Regions from separate parts of the Homo sapiens genome. Here all the other regions are linked to region 1. Evidence: promoter capture Hi-C in 16 types of primary human blood cells and fetal thymus (Javierre and others, 2016). All regions are on one chromosome and are shown on one strand. Each heading gives the region's core, a stretch centred on a gene start or on the middle of the fragment in contact. The rest is flanking DNA. Distances are from core to core; before and after follow the strand shown.

Region 1 (2,939 bases), core at 192-2,691:
AGTGGGGGTTTGGGGCAGGGGGTAGATTGGGTGGCTTTATTGCTAGTTGTTCTGAAAAAAGAAAACTCCGAAGCATTTACATGTAAGCTTTCCAACCACTTTCAAACACCTCTACAAAACACCCTCAGAAGTCTGAAATCTTTGCAGCAGAAGGGCTGTAGTTAAAGCTGCTGGGCTAACAAAATCATCAAAGAAGCCAGATGAGACAACCCAGTCAGGAAATCCTAGTGATTATTCTTAACCTGTTTTTCCCTAATTTAAGGTAAACTCTTATATACCTGATGTGGGATGTAGAAAGTTACACTGGAGCAAGCTGGATCTTCTGCTGAACTTTTAATCAAACCTAAGAAAAAATAAAGGCAAGGTTTGTTTTTATTAATCTTATTTTATTTTAAAATAGCATAACCTAGAAGTTATTCTGTTATAAAGGAACATGGCTGAACAGGTAGGAAACAGATTCCCCATTATGAGTTCTCCTTATGGCTTCTGCAAGGATCATGGAGATGTCAATTACTCGTATTTTGGAGCAATGCTTCATCTTCTCATCTTGAGGTATGGTATTGGTGACTACCACTGCTTCAAAGCATGCAGTGTTGATGCGAGAAATGGCTGGGCCAGAAAAGATTCCATGAGTCAAGATAGCATAAACTCTGGTTGCTCCAGCTGAGAGAAGTTTGTCAGCTGCGAGGCAGATTGTAACACAAGTGTCTGCCATGTCATCTACAAGGATAGCCACACGATCATTCACATCTCCCACTAGCACTATGCAGTCCACTTCATTGGCCTTCTTCCGTTCTTTATGAATCAAAGCAAAGTCCACATTCAACTGGTCTGCAATGGAGGTCACTCTTTTAGCTCCACCAGCATCTGGCGAGACAATAATGCAGTTCTTCCACTCAGGGATATTCTCCCTTATCCACTTCAGGACAGTTGGCTCTGCATACAAGTTGTCTACTGGGATATCAAAAAAGCCCTGAATTTGAGAAGCATGTAGGTCCATGGTGATGATATGATCCGCACCTGCTATAGAGAGCATATTTGCAACAAGCTTGGCAGAGATTGGGGACCGGCTCTTATCCTTCTTATCCTGTCGGGCATAAGGGAAGCATGGGATGACTGCAGTAACTCGGCTAGCTGAAGCAATCTTGCAGGCATTAATCATGATCAAAAGCTCCATTAGACTGTCGTTGATTTCGCCACAACCACTCTGAACGATGTAGACATCCTCTCCACGCACACTCTCATCAATTTCCACGCAGGTCTCCTGGTTGCTGAATTTCTTAGTCACCACCTTGCCTAGCTCCAGGCCCAGGCGGTCAGCAATTTTCTGGGATAAGTCCTGGTGGGAGCTGCCGCTGAAGATTTTGATATTCGGCGTCTTGGCCAACTACCAGAGGCACTCCGTCGAGCGATCCAGCTGCCGCTGAGGCTGGAACGGAAGTGAAGCACAGACTCTAATGGCTTCCGGTTGTTACTCAACCGTTAGGGTCCCTTCCCCCTTGCGGCGCGCGGTCCCAAATTGACCCTGGGTCTCTTGAAAAAATTTCTGCTTGCCACCTCCCACTTCACACTTTTAGACTAAATAATCAAGTATTTACAGTGTATGGAGTTTTTTTCTATTAGCACCTATATTAGTTTCACAGGGCTATTTAAACAAATTTGAATGCATAAAAACATAAAACTACAAAGCAAAACCCAAGTTTAAAAGGAAAATTACCTACTAAAGTATATGCAAAAGATTATTTTAGAAAGAATTTCCCCAATGAAGTGAGAAAAAGACAATAAAATAGAAAGTTGAAAAATGGCATAAATAGGCAATCACAGTAAAAAAAAAATGGATAAGAAACGTGAAACAATGGAAGTAATCAAGAAAACGCTATTTTCACACATCAAGTAGCCAAAATGTTAAGATAAGGTCTTCTATTCGGATGGAATGTATAAATATGTAGATTTTGCATGGGTAATTTTGCACATAAACTTTGACTCATCATGTATACTTCTAGGAATCTATTTCAGAGAAATTTTCACAAGCACCCCAAATATATATGGCTACATAGTAGTGTAGCTGTATTCATTCATGCAATAAATATTTTGTGAACACCTCCTATATGTCAGGTATTATACTACTTCTAGGGTATAAAAATTGTGCATGACAAATAGTAATTGCCCTAGAATTGTTTATAAAAGCAAAATATGGGAACCAACAAATGTTCATCAATAGGTAAATTACCAAATAATTTATTGTATATACATATGCGACCATTAAATAGATTAAGTGTAATCATGTGGAAATGTCTCCTAGGTATTTTTTTAAAGGTAAAGTCAGTCACAAAAATATCATAGTATTATATTTATGTATTTAAGATTATGTGATACTGAAAGCATCCAATTAGCATGGAAGTCCTCTTTATAATAATTACCTTTGGAGAGGGGAGTAGGTTGTGAGAGTTGAGAATGAAGGAGGACTGTTACATTTTACTGCTATCAGTGTGGCATTTGAACATTTATTACTTTTGTAGTAAAAATGATGAACAAAATGTATTTGGTAATTAAATGTTTGTTAGCAAATTTTAAGTATACAGCTTCTATGGCGTATCGGGGCTGGAAATAGTGAGGAAGGAGGCAGAAAGGACCATAGATGCCAATGATTTCATAAAAATAATGGAGGCATCAGATACAGATCAACCATTTATATCTTGCTAATTGTGTGCCTGACATTTGGATACCAGGGTGTTTTTATTTAGCCTAAAACCAAATCATCATTTTTTTCATATTGTAAGATAACCAAATAATTTAAGAGATTTTCTCACCACACTTCTGGGCTTCCTTAATGTGTTGGGTTCATGAATAGGATAAACTCAGAAATGGGATAAGAAATGGGGTAGGCAACAAAGATGGGTAAGATTCAGCAATGTCTGTGAAAAACATTACTTAGCTAT
Region 2 (2,939 bases), core at 251-2,750, 340 kb before region 1:
CCAGCAAGATGGTCTGTCACAGAATCCTTGTATGTGTATGTCCTTGTAGGTCAAGGCTTCTTAGCTTTCTGCCATTTGACAATTCTCCCTTTGTATGGGGAACGAGTGAACTTGACATGACCTGAATACACAGAATCCCAAGGCTTGGACCATTCCAGTCCCAAGAGATAATTTATATAAAATAAATCAAAGGAGGAGTAGAAAGTATGTGATTGCTTCAGTCTTTGTTTTGTCCTGTGTTGTGATAGTTTTACCAAGCACATGGCTCAGAGGAGGACCAAATGAGAAAGTGAAGCATTTATAACAAGATACCATCACTGTAGATTAACCTGAGTACAAAGGAAGAAGGTGGACACCTTACCCTGGGGGGAAGCAGGAAACAGACCCTATACCTGGAGCTGGCCTGCGGATATCTCCATGTCTGCCTCCCAAGATTGTAGGGTTGACAGATTTACACTGTTTCAACATGTAAAACGAAGAGGTGAAAACTTCACCAGCAGAAGGCTGAGAAACCACTATGAGCAATGCCTGCTCTTAATTCATGTTACCTTAAGTATAAAATAAAAAGGACTTAGTTGAAAAAACTCCTACCAGATTCCTGTTTTATGAAATTCTGAATTTTTTTATGTCTTAATCAAAAAACCTAAATATTTTAGGGCATGGAAAGGAGAATAGATTCACCCTTGAGCACTAGCCTAAATTAGTTATGAATTATTATGTTTATTTTGCAGGTGAGAAAATTGAGGCTCAGAAAGTCTGGAACTTTCTCTTTCCTCACATCCCTTTCGACAGTAGGGCACACGTCAAAACTGGTCATTTGGGAACAGTATGTTTTGGTACAATTCTTCCTTTCTTTCATGGACAAGAGTAATATTAATTTGATCAAAATAAGGCAAATGGACTTTGGCTTTAATAGAATTTTTATATCAAATATTTCCAGATAACAATGAAGTTCTAATCTGCAAAAGCTGCAGGTGTTGTTAGAAGAACCATCCTTCTATGGGTGGGGTGCAGTGGATCACGCCTGTAGTCCCAGCACTTTGGGGGCCAAGGAGTTCAAGACCAACCTGGACAACATGGTGAAACCCCATCTCTACTAAAAATACAAAAATTAGCCAGGCATGGAGGCACATGCCTGTTAATCCCAGCTACTCAGGAGGCTGAGGTATGAAAACTGTTTGAACCTGGGAGGCAGAGATTGCAGTGGGCCGAGATGGTGCCACTGCACTCCAGCCCGGGTGAAAGAGCGAGACTCCATCTCAAAAGAAAGAATCATCGTCCTATGAATTGGAATCTTATAAAAATAGCGCATCAACCAAATTGGGACAGAATTATTATATATATACATACGAAGAGAAAAATGGGAGACTGCCATGTGGGTCAGTGCCCTCAGGAGTCCCCAGCCAGAATCCCTCCCCCAGCACCACATCCAACTCCTAACTGTCCACACCTTGGCCAAACTCTGGGCATATCTGGACACTGGGAACATGTCCCTTCCCTGCCCCCTACAAACCATCGGCCACATTTCCACAATATGGGCATGGTTCTGCCTGTCCCTGGCTGCTGGAGACATCCTGGTGTCAGAGCTCCTGTTGGCAGTGCACAGTGTTGACGGGGAGCCATGAGTGCTGATGTAGCTAACAGTGCTCACCAACTGGTATTGTGCAGGCCTCACCCTGCTAGGTTTGCCCTCTGAGGCACCCTGAGCAAGCCAGCTAACAGCCAAAGGTGCTGTTCCTGGGAGTCTCAGCCACCCAGTTTCTGAATGACCCCAAGGGTTAGAGAGATCCACAGTTTGAAGCACCACCACAATGCATTTGCAACACTGTGGTTGGTAGACTCCAGTGTAGGTATCACGGATAAGCAGAGGTTGTTTTACAATCAGTATTTCTGATTTCTAAAGCCATCTCTTTCCACTAGGCCCCAAAGCTACAGAGGGTGAAGGCTAAGATCAAAGGAGTGGTGTTCTTGGAAAAACCAGAAGCAGAACTCATAGCATCAACACAACTGACCACAAGAGCAACAGTGCAGCAGAAGAATGGCCTCCCACAATGTAAGTTATAAGGTGACAACCTGGAGATAGGTCTCATCCCTCTCATGCCTCAGAGTAGGGAGAAGATATCAAGCAGATTACACTAGGCCCCGCTGACATCTAGGACTTTCCTTTGCAGACTACTTCTATGCTCTCTGGCATCTATAGCTCCATGAACCTTATTCTGCTCATTTCATTTGTTTCTAATTCAGAGGTGGTCACTTTCAATTGCCCAGTCTTTTAAAGGTGGGGAATTTTTGGATGGACTGAGCAAAGCCTTGAAGCAAAAGCAAGGATCTTTCTGGTCCCAAATACAAGTGGGATTTGAAGGTACCTGTTGCTGAGTAACCTCCGCTGTTTCCTCTCTGCTCCCTCTCAAGAACAAATCCTCCACCAAAGTCGGCTTGGATCTCACAATGCTTCATCATGAAGACGTGAGCAATCTTTCAAACTGATCTCCTTCTGCAAAGTTGGGGTGCAAAAGTCTTCCAGCCCAGGAGGTCATTGAAACCTTTAGCCTAACTCTTCCCATATTCTCTTTTCAAGTTTGTTGTTGTAGCTGTTGCTGCTGTTTTGGTGTTATCACTACTGAAATATAGTTCATTTGCCATAAAAGTTTACTCTTTTAAGGTGTACAATTCAGCGATTTTTTTTTTAGTATATTCACTTGTGCAGCCATATCCACTAACTCGAGAACCTCTTCATTACCTGAGAGAAACCCTTTAACCATTAGTAATCACCTCAATTCCCTCCTTTTCCCAGCTGTGGCAACCAATAATCTATATTTTGTCTATGGATTTACCTTGTCTGGACATTTCATGTGAGTGGAATCATACAAAATGTGGCCTTTTATATCTGGCTGTTTTCACTTTTGTTTTCAACGTTCACCCCCATTGTAGCACGTGTC
Region 3 (2,939 bases), core at 214-2,713, 320 kb after region 1:
AAAATAAGATGTTTTTGCTTTTTGATAAGGTAATGGTCAATGGGATCGAAAGACACTTTTTTCTTCCACAATTACAATAGACACTGGTATGGTTTATTGATGATTCTCATCAGTTATATTTCACCAAAATCTCATAGCAACAGGAGAAAATTTCCCATTGTTTGGTTGGGAGCCAGAAGCTGAGAGTGCAGGTCATTTTTCTTCATCTGAGGAAAGTGGAATAGCCAATCCACCACTTTGTTTTCTAGGTCTAAAATGATCTGTTCAGTCTTTCCTAATTCATGGGTGTGGCATTCATAGGAGAGGCTGGCGGCACAAAGGAAATAAGACATCTATGCATCAATTTCTTTATATTGTACCATGGGATGGGGGTTTTAAAAGTTGTTCATATTTGTTTTCTGCACCATACTGAATGAATATTTCACAGTAACTCTTTTTAGAACACAATACTTGGTGAAAAATAAAATTCACCGTATTAATGTAACATTTTCCAATCCTAGTTACCAGCACTGCAAAGTACACACCACTCAACAATTGCTAGAATATGTAGCTATGTGTATTTTTAAAGCATATTATAAATTTTCCCACTCTTAGCAGAAAGTGAAGGAAAATGAGCACTTCATTAGCAACACTCTTAGTTGTGCAGCCAAGAAATAAAACATGAAGTAAGGTTTCTAGATACTATGGGAACCCCATTATGACTCCCTGGGGAGGCTTAGGGGAGGATGTTTTTCATAATGAGTCCATGCAGAAAGTTTTAATACTAGAACATCCTTACTTAGACATTTGCTTAGATTTCTACCACTAATGGGAAAACAAAACTAACAAAAACAACAACTCCCATGTAAATTGTGTTTATTCCTATTCAGTTAAACAAAGGGATCTTAGACCAAGTTGATAAACTGCAACATGTTCTTATTTATTTTATTTTATCTTACGTTATTTTATTTTATTTTTTAGACAGAGTCTCAGTCTGTTGCCCAAGCTGGAATGCAATCTCGGCTCACTGTAACCTCTGCCTCCCAGATTTAAGTGATTCTCCTGCTTCAGGCTCCCGAGTAGCTGGACTACAAGGTGTATGCCACCACGCCCGGCTAATTTTTTGTATTTTTAGTAGAGATGGGGTTCTCAAACTCCTGACCTCAGATGATCCACCCACCTCGGCCTCCCCAAGTGCTGGGATAACAGGCACGAGCCACTGCACCTGGCCGGCAGTATGTTTTTAATCTGTATCTCAGTGCCCTCTGTTTTTACAAAGTAGATGATAAGTATTGAGTTTTGAAATAGATAAAGGGTTGACAGTCATAGATTCTTGCTTTTAATTTTAAGAGAGAAGTAGGTAGCAAATTTTGGAGTTGAAAGACGGATCATGCAGTAACTAGCAACTGTTTCTCAAAATTCCCTCATCATTAGGATCTCTTGAATTGCTGGTTTAAAATATCAGTTTCTAGGCTGCTCCACAAAATATTTTGGGTCCTGCAGTTGGACATGAAAAGCACAAGCACCCCAGGTAATTCTTATGATCAGGAGAATTTGGGAAACATTTATCTGATTTAATTAATTATAGAGGCAATGTCAGCGATTAAGAGGTAAGATATGGAGTATAGATTCGTATGTTCATTTAGGAAATGCTTAGCTATCAACACTTATTGAGCATTTATACTATGGACCAGATTTGAGCACACTTACTACATGTGTGATTTTTGAACTTGTCTTTTACCCTTTCTGAATCTCAGTTTCTCATTTAAAAAATGAGGATAATACCTTACTCATGGATTTTTGGGAAGGTTCAATTAGATATGCCCCAAGAAATGCTTAATTTTTCTGAAAAATACCACTGTTTTTAGGCATCTATTATACTGTAGGGGTCATAATTTAATTATTTCTATTAGGTATTTTTACTATACACCAAGATTTCATTATGCAATCACACATCTGTTGTTCTGAGCTGTGGTTCTTACTGGCATCTTTTGGAGATGTATTTAGAGGTAAAGAATCCTTTAACAACTTTTAGGATCCAAAATCTCCTAACACAAACTTTCTCCTTCTGCCTTCTCTTTAGCCCTTTTAAAATTGGTGTATTTCCTACTTAAACTCACATATTTCAACTTCTTGCAACACTATTAAAATTACAGCTACTATTTGTTAAGCACTTACTGTAATCCAGGCACAGTCCTGGATGCTGCTTGTATTATTTAATCTTCACAGTAGTAGTGCAGTTTAGGTATTATGACTATTTAAATGGAGTCTGAGAACACAGAACTCAGTAATTGAGACAGCATCTTATAGGTATGATGCTGTGAAGAACAGAAATTATTTTAATACCTGTATATCTGTCTTCAAGCCCAAGTTCTGTCCACTATAAGCTATTCCCATAACTTTAATACAGTCATTTTCCCAATATGAGAACATGAATTTCTCCCATTGGCTTCCTAATGGTTTTCTGTCACTCAGAGTAAAATTCAGCTTCTTTACTTACTAAGGCCTACAAAGCACTGCACCGTATGTCTTTCATGTTCTAAGGCTTTTGCATTTGTTGGTCCCTGTGCTTGAAACTGTCTTGCCTTAGGTAAGCTGTGCACCTCTCCCTGACCTCATTAGAGATGTCTTTCCAGATGACCTCCCATACTTGAGAACATCTACACACACACACACACACACACACACACACACACACACACACACACACACACACAGATATTGCCCTTCCTCCTTGCTGGCTTATTTTTTCTCTATAGCAGTGATCAACAGCTAACATCTTAACATCTAATATAGTTTTCTTTATTTTTTCTTTCTCCCAGTATAATGTTAGTGCCTGAGAATGGTAGCTTAATGTTATCTGCTTTATCCCCACTGCCTAGCACATAGCAGGGATGCAATAAATATTTGATTCTCAAACATTGAATTGGGGGACATATCTGATATTCTTTATGTTAGTA
Region 4 (2,939 bases), core at 231-2,730, 300 kb after region 1:
TGTGCGACACTTCATCTTGGGATGCAAATTTTTGTGCTAAAAAAAACTGAGAAAAACAAAAAGAAAAACATGTATTTCTGAGGAACTTGTTTTTATATCTGGCATAAATGAGAAAAAGCTAATTAAAACTATTAATTATCAGAAAATTGAAGATAAAGTTGAAGAGCCTATACCAACCAAAGTTGAATAAATGGCAAAATATAATATAGATGAGTTACTCTGAAATAATTTTTTATTTCCTACTATCTAACTTACCAAACTTCCTGATTTTAATTACATAACAATTTTTTGGTTATTTTAATATTCATTTGGTACTTATTTCCTTTTTTATTGTTATAGTATTAGATGAAATCATAACATCAATTTGCTCCTTTGTAAAAGAGGATGTTGAGTTAGAAGTGTTCTAAGGTGGCTTTCAGCAATAGGCTGCCATACCAATTGGAAAAATCTAGCATGGTATAAAAGAATATTTAAGCAGTAATTATGACTGGAAAACATCAGAGTGGAAATGAAGTATGGCTGAGAAACCTTTTTGCTTTTAGCTTTTTTTGGAGTTCATTACAATAAAATGAAATTATAGAAACTTAACCCATGAGTATTTTTCTCTTTGAACTTTAGTTCCTATTGAAATTGGAGAGGAAACTACACAGTAATCTAAGGGTGATCACAGGAGATGTCAGCTGCCTTCCAGGGCTTTTTGCAACGTGGAATTGCCTTTACTCGTTTATTGAAGAGTGCCCGTTATGTGTTGGGGCTGGACTCACAGTTTCTAGGGTGTAGATCTTAGCCATGGAGATCCAGACACTTACGGGGTTAGGATATTGGGAGTAGTGCTCTTATGCAGGGACAGGCTTGCATTAACCAAACTCACCAGATATTAGTGTATAACCAAAATGCAAATTTATTGGTTTACAATAAGAATTCTTTGCACTAAGTAATTTAGAATACACACGTAAACCCACTCTGTGCTAACTAACTGAAAGTCACTTTATAGGGAAAATCAAATTATAATTAGAAGATCATGTAATTTTTATCCTCATTTTGTGAATATGGTGTTCACATTTACTGATTGCAGATATTGAACCATCCTTTCATGTTTGGGATAAATCCCACTTGATCATGGTGAGGTGTCCTTTTAATGTGCTTTTGAATTCAGTTTGCTAGTATTTTGTTGAGGACTTTTTGCATCTATGTTCATCAGGAATATTGGCCTGTAGTTTATTTATTTATTATTCTTGTAGTGTCCTTGTCCGGCTCTGGTATCATGGTAATGATGGCCTTGTAAAATTAGTTTGGAAGTATTTCCTCCTCTTCAATTTTTTAATATAGTTTGAGAAGGATTGGTATTAGGTCTTCTTTAAATGTTTGGTAGAATTTGTCAGTGAAGTCATTAGGTCCTGGACTTTTCTTTGATAGGAAATATTTTATTACTGAATCAGTCTCCTTACTCATTATTGATCTGTTCAGATTTTCTTTTTCTTCCTGGTTCAGTCTTGGTAGGTTCCATGTTTGTAGTTCATTTGTTTCTTCTAGGTTATCCTACTTGTTGGTATATAATAGTTTATAATAGTCTCTTCTGATCCTTTGTATTTTTGTGGTATCAGTTGTAACATCTCCTTTTTCATTTCTGATTTTGTTTGGGTCTTCTTTTTTTCTTTGTTAGTGTAGCTAAAGTTTTGTTCATTTTTATCAAAGGGTACAAAATTTTAGAGTGGAGGAATCAGTTTTAATGTATGTATTTTATATTTCAAAATTATTGGAGAATAGATTTTTAACGTTCTCACCACAAAATATGGTAAGTTGGTGAGTTGATAGGTATGTTAATTAACTTGATGCATCTTTCTACAATGTATAACATAAATCAAAATAACATATTGTACTCCATAAATATACAATTATTATTTGTCAGTTAAAATAAATATGTAAAAATTATACTTAGAAGGCCACTTTGGTAAGTGTCGGCTTAAGAGTGAATGGAATAATTGTCGATTAGTAAACAAAAGAAATGTCATCTCTCCAAAAAAAAAAAAAACAGTGAATGGAATGAACTGTATAATTCAATGTTTGATGATACTGGTCTCTGATATTCTGTGCTCTCTGATTCACAAAAGTGATGTGCCTGTCAGGGGATCAGATTGCTCAAGAACATGGGCCAGAGTATAATTCCTGTTGATGGCACTTGGATCCAGATTATGTCTTTTGAAGCCTTCTGTTTCTTTCCTCCATTTCACATTACACTCTCCTTGCTGCCTTTTATGCATTTTATGTAGGCTTACTAACCCAGCTCTCTAGCTTAGTGCCTGGCCCCCAGAAGTACTGAAGAAATGTTTAACTACCGTTTAGCTAGCCACAACATTCTTACTAGTTTTGCTTTGGGAATAGTGTATATTTTACTTCTAAGGTACTTTGGGTCTATTTTATTGCTGCATTCTAAGGCTTGTGTGTATGTGTGTGTGTGTGTGTGTGTGTTCCGTGTGTGAGAATAATGGGAAGGTATGATACCCACCTCTCATACCTTGATGCTTTGGGAAAATAAAAATTTTCTGATTATATTATTTTGCAGATGTTCTAGTTATACTTATCAATCTTTTCTGCTTGCCAAATGAAGATTTAGATTGTGAAGATTCTTTTCAGAGACATAGGTTCAAAACTAAATGAAACCCAGGGCATCTGTAATTCTTCACACTTTAGTGAAGCTCTGTGATAATAGTGAGTAGATGTGTGGTGTGGGGACACTTGGGGTGGTATTTCAGACACTTAGATATTTGCCGGAAATCTGAAACTTGTTAGTTCACATTTAGTTTTCACTAAATGGATTATATTTTTCTCCTAAAACTGCTATTCCACTATTAAAATTAATGGACATACAAGATACCTTGTCTGTAAATAGAACAGATATTTTTAATATTTTGTCACAGTCCCCCAAAGCATTAGTCTGT

The links. The method cuts DNA at HindIII sites, captures the fragments that hold promoters and counts their contacts. A CHiCAGO score of 5 or more calls a contact.
Region 2: a fragment that was not itself captured here is called in contact with the fragment with the promoter of PRPS1L1 in region 1 in 1 of 17 cell types (M2 macrophages); the score reaches 5.0 in M2 macrophages.
Region 3: a fragment that was not itself captured here is called in contact with the fragment with the promoter of PRPS1L1 in region 1 in 1 of 17 cell types (neutrophils); the score reaches 6.9 in neutrophils.
Region 4: a contact is called between a fragment that was not itself captured here and the fragment with the promoter of PRPS1L1 in region 1, in 1 of 17 cell types (neutrophils). The highest score is 7.1, in neutrophils.

Annotation. Positions count from the first base shown.
Region 1 is chr7:18,026,405-18,029,343 of GRCh38, forward strand. It overlaps PRPS1L1 (phosphoribosyl pyrophosphate synthetase 1 like 1), which reads right to left and starts at 1,442. Exons shown (of 1, transcript NM_175886.3): 1 at 366-1,442. The coding sequence starts at 1,378. The coding sequence ends at 422. The HindIII fragment of the contact is 3,750 bases long and covers 1,047-2,939 here.
Region 2 is chr7:17,690,500-17,693,438 of GRCh38, forward strand. No RefSeq gene overlaps it. Among named protein-coding and RNA genes, the nearest start is that of LINC02889, 130 kb to the left of the region's middle. The HindIII fragment of the contact is 3,289 bases long and covers 1-2,939 here.
Region 3 is chr7:18,346,667-18,349,605 of GRCh38, forward strand. It overlaps a transcript of HDAC9 not described here. Among named protein-coding and RNA genes, the nearest start is that of HDAC9, 150 kb to the right of the region's middle. The HindIII fragment of the contact is 5,296 bases long and covers 1-2,939 here.
Region 4 is chr7:18,327,538-18,330,476 of GRCh38, forward strand. It overlaps a transcript of HDAC9 not described here. Among named protein-coding and RNA genes, the nearest start is that of HDAC9, 170 kb to the right of the region's middle. The HindIII fragment of the contact is 3,573 bases long and covers 1-2,939 here.